Regions from separate parts of the Homo sapiens genome. Here region 2 is linked to region 1. Evidence: promoter capture Hi-C in 16 types of primary human blood cells and fetal thymus (Javierre and others, 2016). All regions are on one chromosome and are shown on one strand. The core of a region is centred on a gene start or on the middle of the fragment in contact, and the rest is flanking DNA. Distances in the headings are between cores, read along the strand shown. Region 1 holds the start of WNT16 (Wnt family member 16). Region 2 overlaps TSPAN12 (tetraspanin 12).

Region 1 (5,101 bases), core at 1,266-3,765:
AGGACAGAATACCCTCTGAGTGCACCCCAAAGGCTTTATCTGGATGCGTAGATGGTGCTAGATTCCCAGAATAATAATGAAGGTAACATTCAAGTGTCTCCTCCCCACTCTGATCCCCAAGACTGAAATAAGTAATCTTCCTTTGTGTGTTCACAGCACACTCTACTTTGTACATTTATTGCACGTATTATAGCTGCATGCTCCCTTGTCTGTCTTGCCAAGTAGACTGTGAATTCCATGATCATTTGAGTAAGTGCTATCCCCACTTTCTAACCCATAACAGAGACTCAATATATGTTTTTGATTTTTTAAAAAATCAAACACCTCTTTAAAACATCTACCACCGTTGGCCCTAAAATCAGCCTAAGGTATGGATATTGTCCAGCACCCCCAACCCGGAGATTGCCTCCCCACTTCCAATTCCCCTTGAAATGAAGTAAAAACTGTAGTTCCAGCATTTAGGCCTCTTACATATCCACTCAGGATGTTCCTCATTGTTAATTCACTCAATAAATTTTGTTCAAAAACAGGATCTTATGTACTAGGCCCAATGGCAGGGGTACAGCAATGAATCCGCCATTGTCCCTCTTGGAGAAGCTCACAGAATAAAGTGAGCTTGGATGAAGGCTCTGACTTTCAGAGAGGCCACTAGCCGTTAGCCAAAATATTTCTGGATCAGTATCTACATCCTATCATCAACTTGACTCCTCGACTCTTTAAAATGTGGCTTTAGAACCTGGTACATAGTGTACACTCAATAAACATTTGTTGGATAAGGGAGTGAATGGGATAGGATGAAAATTTCAGTGAGCTTTTATTGCTCACTGATTGATATAGGAGATAAGCAGCTAATGCTATCTAATCCTTTTTTTTTTTTTTTTTTTGAGTCGGAGTCTCACTGTGTGCCATAGGCTGGAGTGCAGTGGCGCTATCTCAACTCACTGCAACCTCCACCTCCTAGGTTCAAGCAATTCTCCTGTCTTAGCCTCCCGAGTAGCTGGGATTACAGGCATGCACCACCACACCCAAATAATTTTGTATTTTTAGCAGGGACAGGGTTTCACCATGTTGGCCATGCTGGTCTTGAACTCCTGACCTCTGGTGATCCGCCCATCTTGGCCTCCAAAAGTGCTGGGATTACAGGTGTGAGCCACTGCACCTGGCCCCAAATCCTTTATTTAAGTAATTTTGGCTTTGGGTACCCACTGAGCTGATACGTCCACCATGGGAATGTATTAACACTTCAAAAGATCTCTAAGGACAGATAATGCTTCTTAGAAACATTTCTTGTGTCTAATTAGGTGAGGCAGGCTTTCCCAATACCACAGCTAAACACGTTGCACTTGCCTTCAGATAACTCTCGGAGACCTTCCATCCTACAAAACACTGATTAACTAACCTTCCAAATCTGCCAGTAACTGGAACACTTCCTGCTTCTGAACTATCTTCGGCTCCAGGGAGTACCCTGCTAGATTCTTTAATCTCTCTTACTGATCATCTAAACGTATTTTCTTTTACACTTGTGTATGGTTTATTTGTACAGTTGTGGGAAGAGAGCTTGTCTTTATAAATTCCCACAGGACTAGGCACACAGCAGGTATTTAATAAGTACGTTTTTAAAAATGTGTCTTCCATGTGTAGCCCTGTCCTGCAGGGACGCATCGGGTAGGTGGCAAAGGGGTGCCCAATCCTAGCGAACTTTCAACTGAGGTTGGGGGAGAAGGGCAGGGACCCTCCCACCATGAGAATCGTAAGGTAGGACTGGAGAAAAAGATCAGAGCACATCTCTCATGTACTCTAGAACTCTCCAGAAACCTCTCACTTTCTTTGTCCCCATCTTCTGCAGGGGACTTACAGCGTTCTCAGGGACTGCAGGAAATAAGACAAATAGGGAAAAGGAAATCACAGAGCACGATTGAAATATGGCAGATGAGATGCTAGACTGGAATCTTCTCTTTCGCTCAAAATAAATGCATACATAAATGACAGTGATTGTAAGCCTGACAGCACTTCACCCACTCTCTAAAGTCTCCTGACAGTGGGACCTCAAGCAGGGGACTGGAAGGTTAATTTGTTCGGTACCAACTCTGACTCAAAAAGATTATTCTCCTGTGAGGTGAAGGAGAAGAAAAAAAGGTCAGTGACATTTTCCAGCCACTACACCCAGAGGGTAACCCAGATGTTGGTGGGATGGGTGGGACTCATCAAACCCACGCTTTCCCCCAAGGTTGCTAAGACAGAGCGTCCTGTTAGTCTTCGGGTTGAATCAACCCCACAACGACCCGTTCTAAGGAGACTGTGACAGCAGGAAAGGTCATGACACACCCAGGTCTGGACACGCTGTCCCTGAGGCCAGTGCCCGGAGCGCCCCCCGCGGAGCCGCTCTCCACCAATAAGAGCCTGAGGTCCCGAGATGATGAGATGCGGGGCCGCTGCTCAGCCAATCAGGCTCCAGGCGCGGCCAGGGGGAGGAGATGGGAGGAGAGGCCGGGGGCGATGGAGACGCGGATACATCAACAGAAGTTTCTCACCTAGGAATGCGAGGGGCGCTCCCGCATCTCCTGCACATCTCCACCCCTGCGCAGGAGGAGATCCCCAGGCTGCTCTCTCCATCTCTCCTACAGCTCCCTGCAAACGAGGGGGAAGCTGCTGAGAGTCCCTATCACTGCTGGCCTTTTAATGTTGTATGCAAGGAGGAAGAGGGCGAGGGATAACTTGGTGCTGGACAACTGACCTGCGGCCCGAAGGGCCTCTGGGGAGGGGGTGCAAAAGAGGAGCGGCTGGGCTGGGGGACTCCATGCGGGGGCGATGGACAGGGCGGCGCTCCTGGGACTGGCCCGCTTGTGCGCGCTGTGGGCAGCCCTGCTCGTGCTGTTCCCCTACGGAGCCCAAGGAAACTGGATGTGAGTATGGAGGTGGCAGGGAAGCATCGGGTAGGTGGCAAAAGGGGTGCCCAATCCTAGGGAACTTTCAACTGAGGCTGGGGGAGAAGGGCGGGGACCCTTAGACGAGTGACCTAATTTTTCGGAAAACATCTGGAATTGGGGAGCGGCTTAACGCTACGGGCGGCCGTGTCTTACAGGTGGTTGGGCATTGCCTCCTTCGGGGTTCCAGAGAAGCTGGGCTGCGCCAATTTGCCGCTGAACAGCCGCCAGAAGGAGCTGTGCAAGAGGAAACCGTACCTGCTGCCGAGCATCCGAGAGGGCGCCCGGCTGGGCATTCAGGAGTGCGGGAGCCAGTTCAGACACGAGAGATGGAACTGCATGATCACCGCCGCCGCCACTACCGCCCCGATGGGCGCCAGCCCCCTCTTTGGCTACGAGCTGAGCAGCGGTGAGTCCTGGGTCCTTAGGGGTTGGTGGGGGACGGAAGGCGACAACTCCTCCACCGGTTCCTGCAAATAAAGTAAATAGTGCTACGTGGTCCTGTAGCTCTCTAAGTTCCAGAAGAAGCCCTTTAGTGCACGGGGATTGAGAGCTACAAAGGCCAGACCTGGGGAGCAGGTGCGAGCCTGGAGGGAGGTGACTCCCCAGTTCCAGAGCGGAGCTCTAGGGGCTGGAGCTCTTCCTCTTTCCTGCGGTGCCCCGCCAGAGTTGGAAAAAAAACTCTAATTCTCCTACCCCGCCGACCCCCTCGGACCCCGTAGCGCCCCCCTACGTGGGTGACCAGCTGGAGAAACATGATGTCGGCAGCGGGGAATGCGGCTGCCGCATCTGCTTTGATTTAACCAACTCCGCTGCGCACCAAACCCCGGACAAGTGGCTAATTGCAGCGAAGCCCCACCTTTATTGGCTCCTAGGAGCACCGAGTTGACAGAATAATGGTGACTTTTAAAGCGACTGTCCGCGACCACCCAACGTGCGGCTAACCTGAGCAGGACCACTTGTGCGCTTCTCGTTTCTTTGGCTTTTCTATCTTTCCCTCCTCGGCGCACTCCCGCGGCGCGGGAAGCTGCAGGAAAACAAAGTTCCACTTCCACGTGCGTAGTGACTTGGTAAGGATAAAGGTACAGGGAGCCAGGATTGTTCCTGGAATATCAACAGATCCAAAGAATGTTAGGACTGGGGCGCTGAAGGATGCGCTGTCGTTTTTCATGTTCATTTCCGTTCCCCCTCCGCCTTTGACCCTTGTCCACGCAGTCCCTGCGCGCACCCCCGCCGAGCCGCGCACCTCCCCCGCGGCGTTCTGGCCGGCACGCCCTTCCGAAGGAGCCCTGGTCCCCGTAGAGAGAAAAAAAAAAAAAAAAAAAAAAGAGACAGAAAGAAAAAAAATAGATGTGTTTTTCACAGTTGCTGAAATGCATCAGCTGTTGAAAAGGTTTATTGGACAGCGGGCATGAAACTGTTTCTACTCCAAACTAAACATCTGGAAAGAAAAAAAAAAAGTCGCCTGCTGATTCCCTTCTAGTCCATGTTATTAATGTTTTAATGGACTTTAATTTTCAAAGATTTTAGCTCAAACTCTACTGCAGGTGTGCTAAATGCATAATTTTCAATATTCAATATTTTTAATAGAATTATGTTTTTGCTAGTGACATTTTAATTATCTTACCTTTCATTGCCTTTAAGACTGTAAGAGGAGTAGCTAATACTATATAAAATGTTTAACTGTTTCATGTTAATGTGAGACTAATCTTTAATGTGAAAATATACGGTACCGTTTACTAATTGCTTTGGTCTTTCCTTAATTTTAATTTTCATTCTGACACGTATTATTTATGCAAACAAAAATCACACCAAAATGTTCAGCTTGTGTTCTGTGAGAGCACATTTTAAATTTCAAAAGAAAAGCAATCTAGTGTTCTTTGGGTGTTGTATTACCGTTTACAGTATCTATGCAAAGAATTTTTAATTCAGCATGTATTACTGAGCTATGACTGTCAACTGTGCACTGAACTGGGTGCAAACATACATTTCAAATTTAAAAAATAAAGAGATGATTTTAAGGTAAAGGGACAATGTATGACCATACAGTATATGACAATCTCTTCAAGTGGAATACTGAAAATTAATGTTGCTTTTTAAGAGACTAGAACAAGAGCAAATCTTCCTTTCTAAATATGTACTCGTTAACGCATCCATTGTAAGCAACTGAAAAATTA
Region 2 (5,101 bases), core at 1,861-4,360, 540 kb before region 1:
GGTCACAAGGTGCTCAGCAGGGGAGCTTTTGAGCCAGGATGAGCCAGGAGAAGGAATTTCACAAGATAATGTCATCAGTTAAGGCAGGAACAGGCCATTTTCACTTCTTTTGTGGTGGAATGTCATCAGTTAAGGCAGGAACCGGCCATCTGGATGTGTACATGCAGGTCACAGGGGATATGATGGCTTAGCTTAGGCTCAGAGGCCTGACTATATATATATAAATTGAAAATACAAACATCAAACTAGATGTTATGGTAACTAATGCTGAGCTCCAAGAAGAATGAATTGTTGTGGACTAGAGTAGTCAGGAGAAACTTTATGTAATAGGTGGCTGCTGAGCTGGGACTTCAAAGTTGAGTACAAGCTGAAATTGTGGAGATGAGGTTATGCCAGCGAAGAACCATGGTGAGAGCAAAATCAAAGAGATACAGGATATATGGGATGTTAGAGGCAATGAGTGGACTAGGATTGGTCCCGCTGGCTGGTTTCTAGTGATATTTGGGAAAGTATTAAGGGAGATAGATTTGGAAAAATAATCAGGTAGTGGAAGACTTTATTCTGCAGGTACTGAGGAGTGTGGCAGAGATTTGCTAGTTGACAGCAGTACTCATTACCCATTCTTTCTGTGTGGTTATTGAAATTCCTGGTTTAACCTGATGCATGAGTGTTCGGAACAAAAAGCATTTACGACCCTTCCTTGTAGCTGTGTGGTGTCAATGAAAGTGGTGTGTGCTTCTGAGTAGGTCCTTAAAGGGAAGAGGTATGCTTCCTTCCCTTTAACTTTCCCATTGTCTGGCCTATTGTGTGAAATGTGGAAGTAGGCTGCTGCTTGGGTCCATGTGAGCAAAGCAAACACCTCAGCGTTGTAGAGTAGCCAGAGAGAAGGATCCCGAGTCCCAGACACCTTCAGGCAGCCATAGTTCGGGTTACTCACATATGCATTTTATGAGCTAAAATTTCACTTCTATTTTGTTTAAGCCACGGTATTTTGAAATCTCTAATATAGCAGCCAAAATTTTGAATTGAGCTATTGCTTCCTTGTAGTCCTCATGGTAGCCAGGCAAGGCCTAGGGTGGCCAGTGGCCCCTGAGCTTCACGTATCCTAGCGTGTCTTATAAATAACATATACATGAATGAGTTGGGAAGCTCTGCCTTTCTTACAACAAGGAACCTCTGGAAGTGTTCGAGTAAGGAAGCAGCAAGATAAGAATAAAGTTTCACAAGAATTAATCTGAGTGATAGTTAACAGATCAGTGTTGCCTGGGGCTAGGAGAGGGGAATGCAGGATTTATCACAGATGGGCAAGAGGAAACTTTTTGACACGATGAAAATGTTCTAGATCTCGATTGTTGTTGTGGTTACATGAGTATATATAGTTGCCAAAACTAATTAACTATATACTTGAAAGGGGTATATTTATTAGGGGTGTGTGTGTGTGTATGTGTGTGTGTATATATATATAGTATGTTTTTATATATATATGTATATAAAATCTCAATAAAGTTGATTAAAGAACTTAATTTGGGCTGGGCATGGTGACTCATGCCTGTAATCCCAGCACTTCGGGAGGCTGAGGTGGGCGGATCATGAGGTCAGGAGTTCAAGGCCAGCCTGGTCAACATAGTGAAACCCCATCTCTACTAAAAATACAAAATATTAGCCAGGCGTGGTGATGCACAGCTGTAATCCCAGACATTTGGGAGGCTGAGGCAGGAGAATCGCTTGAACCTGGGAGGCAGGGGTTGCAGTGAGCCGAGGTTGCACCACTGACTTCAGCCTGGGTGACAGTGTGAGACTCTGTCTCAAAAAAAACAGAACTTAATTTGCCTGTGTGTGTATGTGTGTGTACAAGATATTTTAGATAATTTATACTTGTTCTTGGGAAATAATAGTAGGAATGAGGTTAGACAAGAGCATCATTTTGATTTGGCCTGGTGATATTGATTTACATGTAGGAGAATTTGGCTTTTCTAGGTAAAGAATCATCTGAGCTTCACCACAGGCTGGTGAAGATACCATGCCACAAAATGGGGAAAGTGGAAGTATAGCTCTGCCACATATTAGCTAAGTAAATGTATTCAGTCTCTTGGAGTCCCTCTTGTTCATTTGTAAAATAAAGTGGGGTGCCTGCAAATTGCAAATGAGTTGTGAAGAACAGAGAAAATAAGTGTAAAGCACCTCCTACATGTGCCTGGTACCTAGTACGCACCCCTGAAAGTATGAGGTAAAGAGTGATTGCAATTAACACATAAAAATAGAAAAAGAAAAGCTTTCAAGATCAAGATGATACCAAAGATTCTCCTATATATGTTTCTAGGATGTGAGGAAATGAGAACTCAGTTCACAGGGGAGACGAATCTGCTTGTAAATCTCAGGATGACAATAGGAAGGGGGTTGGGTGAAGCAACATAGCAGTTGGCAGTGTTTTAAAAAAGGGGCAGCTTCTTTGCCAGAGAAGATTCAGTAGTATAGTGATTTCTTCTTTCTTTACCTCCCTTGACTCATCCACAGGAGAGGGAATTCAGACAAAAGGAAGCTTCTGTGGCAATCTATTTAAGATTCTCCTCATATAAGATTTGGTTCCCAGCCCATTTTCTGTCAGGCTTCCTGAGATGGGAAAGCAATGCATAAAAATTCTCAGGCTTGACAGTGAATTCTCCTGAGCTCCAGACTGAAATTTACAGCTGCCTGTAGACATCTCCATCTGCATGTCCTGCAGGCATCTCCAACTCTGTGTCTCAGACCAAATTAATTACCCTCTCATACTCGTTCCCCTCCAGTCTTCCATCTAGGTTAATGCCATTGCCAATTTGCCAGGCACAAAATCCAGAAATTTCAGTACTTTTACTTCTTGTCCCACACTCCCTGAGGTCTAGCTACTGCCAATTTTTGTGGATTCACCCTGTTGTGATCTGTTTTATGCACTCTGTTTTTTGACTTCCATTGTCCTGGTGAGGATCCTTATCCCTCTCCAGGACCACAACAACAGCAATCTATTCAGTCTCCTGCCAGGGCCTGCAGTGTGTACAACTCTCAAGTGCTCCACTTACCTAGGCTGTGGTCAATGGTGGCCCACCCACCCAGGAGTTGCAAAATAAGTATAACTGTCTCCTGGTCCCCTCTTTCTCACTTGGCTAATCCAGTTAAATTAATGAAATATTCATCATTTCTCTTTCTGAAATTGCTTCGGTGACTTTACTTTGGGCCTACAGAACAAAGCACCCAAACTCAAATTTCATTCATTTCCTGTCCCATGGCATCTCTTCAATCATTCTATGATCTAACCACATTGAACCATAAGTCATAACTCCAAAATAATGTATACTTTTTAACCTCAAACTCATGGCTCATGGAATATTTTCCATGAGCCAGCTAGACTCCACTGCTCCTTCTGATCCAGCTTGAACGCCATCTCCTTGGCATAGCTGCCTTAATTCCACTCTACTCCATCTCTTATTCTTAAGAAGGGCCCCACTCACTGCATATTCCCTTATTTATTTTTCCTGTGGTTAGCACAAGTGTCTCTAACCCAGATTCTACAGTGTTTAAGGACAGACATCATCTCTTGTTGCCATCTCTGAGTCTCCAGGGCACTTTGAATGGACTTTTAACCAGTCTAAAAATAATCTTCTTAAATTTCTACTTTTAAAAAATGGTGATTTTTTTTTTTAACCAAAGAAAGCTTTTAAAAATTCCCAAAGAAACAGTTAACAGTTTTGTTTGCAATGTACCCAAATAGTGAACTCCCTCAGCTCTACTGCATTAAATATACTTTTTTAACTCCCTTGCAGTTTTATTATTCCAGGTGCACTGCTACCATAAGAGGCTTTGTGAGCTACTGCTATAAATGTCATTCATTCCCATTAAGCAAGTGTATTATATACAAAACGATTGTCTAAATTTATGTTGACCATTCTAGAGGGTAGTGTATCAGGTAATACATCAAAATATCTGAGGTCTAAAAATGTAGAAAGCAACTTTTATAATTTGAGGACTTTTTATTTTACTGAGCCCAACATATTATATGCTTGCTCTTGCTGTGACTGTAAGACATATCAAAAAAAGCAGCAGCTAAATTTGACCATTATACAAATAATTCAAACAAAACTCATACATAGCTATCTCAGTTACGTGGGTATTTTAGGTGAAATTACAGGGATTTGGGGTATTGAGGAAGTTATTAAAAGGGATGCTTTTGGCTCTGATTGAACAAGTAATGTACTCAGTTTTCATTAAAATCTATGGAAGATTTTAAACATGGCAGTCAATTTCAAGGATTATATTCCTTAACTCATTTGAAGAGAATTTGAAATTAACTAAGAGACTCATAGTCTCTTAAAAATTAATAAGTTATAAAACTGTGATATGCAAACATTGAAAAGATGAACACAAATGGGCATATTTTTATATTATCTCAAACAAGTATATTATTTAACATTTAGGTAAAAAGCAAAAGTGAAAAATGGGCATCTTTTTGACTCTTCTCAGTGAAAATACATATTCTTATAGGTCCATTCCGGAGTTTGGAAATCAATATTAATACTTTATGCAATCATTCTTTCTCATGTTTTTCTCCCCTTGACAATCTTCTCAAGTGGCATAAGTGCTTGTAATGTATTAAAAAGTAGGCAGAGACAAATCATTACTCTCTAGAAAATATTTATTGACACATTTTAATTTTCTTTCCATATTCTGAGAAATAAACAAAATACACAAAATACAGTAAAATGCACTTTTCCCATTTCAAATAAATATACTATACTCTTGTAAAAAAATTTAATAATCTGTGTAATTTGCCACAGTATATTAATCAGTGAAATAAAACAAAGAATCTCTAAATTGTCACATGTTTTAATGATTCTCACAAGCATTTTTCTGGAGAAAAAGAACACTATTTTCTGTAGAATTTATATTGACTTGGAGACTATTGCTTCTTGTTTGGAGAAGGCAAAGATAAGCTTTTTAAAAAGTGTTTAGTGTCAAAAAGAGTCTTCATTTGGGAGAAAAACAGCATACAAGTCCTTTCTGAATCAACTAAGTTATGTGCAAATTTTCTTATTAATACTTCCTAAAGACCAGACTACATTCTGAATAATGA

What was found. Contacts are between HindIII fragments. The CHiCAGO score rates a contact against its expected background, and 5 or more counts as called.
Region 2: a contact is called between a fragment that was not itself captured here and the fragment with the promoter of WNT16 in region 1, in 1 of 17 cell types (erythroblasts). The highest score is 6.6, in erythroblasts.

The regions. Positions count from the first base shown.
Region 1 is chr7:121,326,485-121,331,585 of GRCh38, forward strand. WNT16 (Wnt family member 16) reads left to right here and starts at 2,516. Exons shown (of 4, transcript NM_057168.2): 1 at 2,516-2,903; 2 at 3,083-3,333. The coding sequence starts at 2,809. The HindIII fragment of the contact is 8,913 bases long and covers 1-5,101 here.
Region 2 is chr7:120,782,675-120,787,775 of GRCh38, forward strand. It overlaps TSPAN12 (tetraspanin 12), which reads right to left. Exons shown (of 8, transcript NM_012338.4): 8 at 4,646-5,101. Among named protein-coding and RNA genes, the nearest start is that of TSPAN12, 73 kb to the right of the region's middle. RefSeq lists an enhancer at 1-344. The HindIII fragment of the contact is 1,146 bases long and covers 2,538-3,683 here.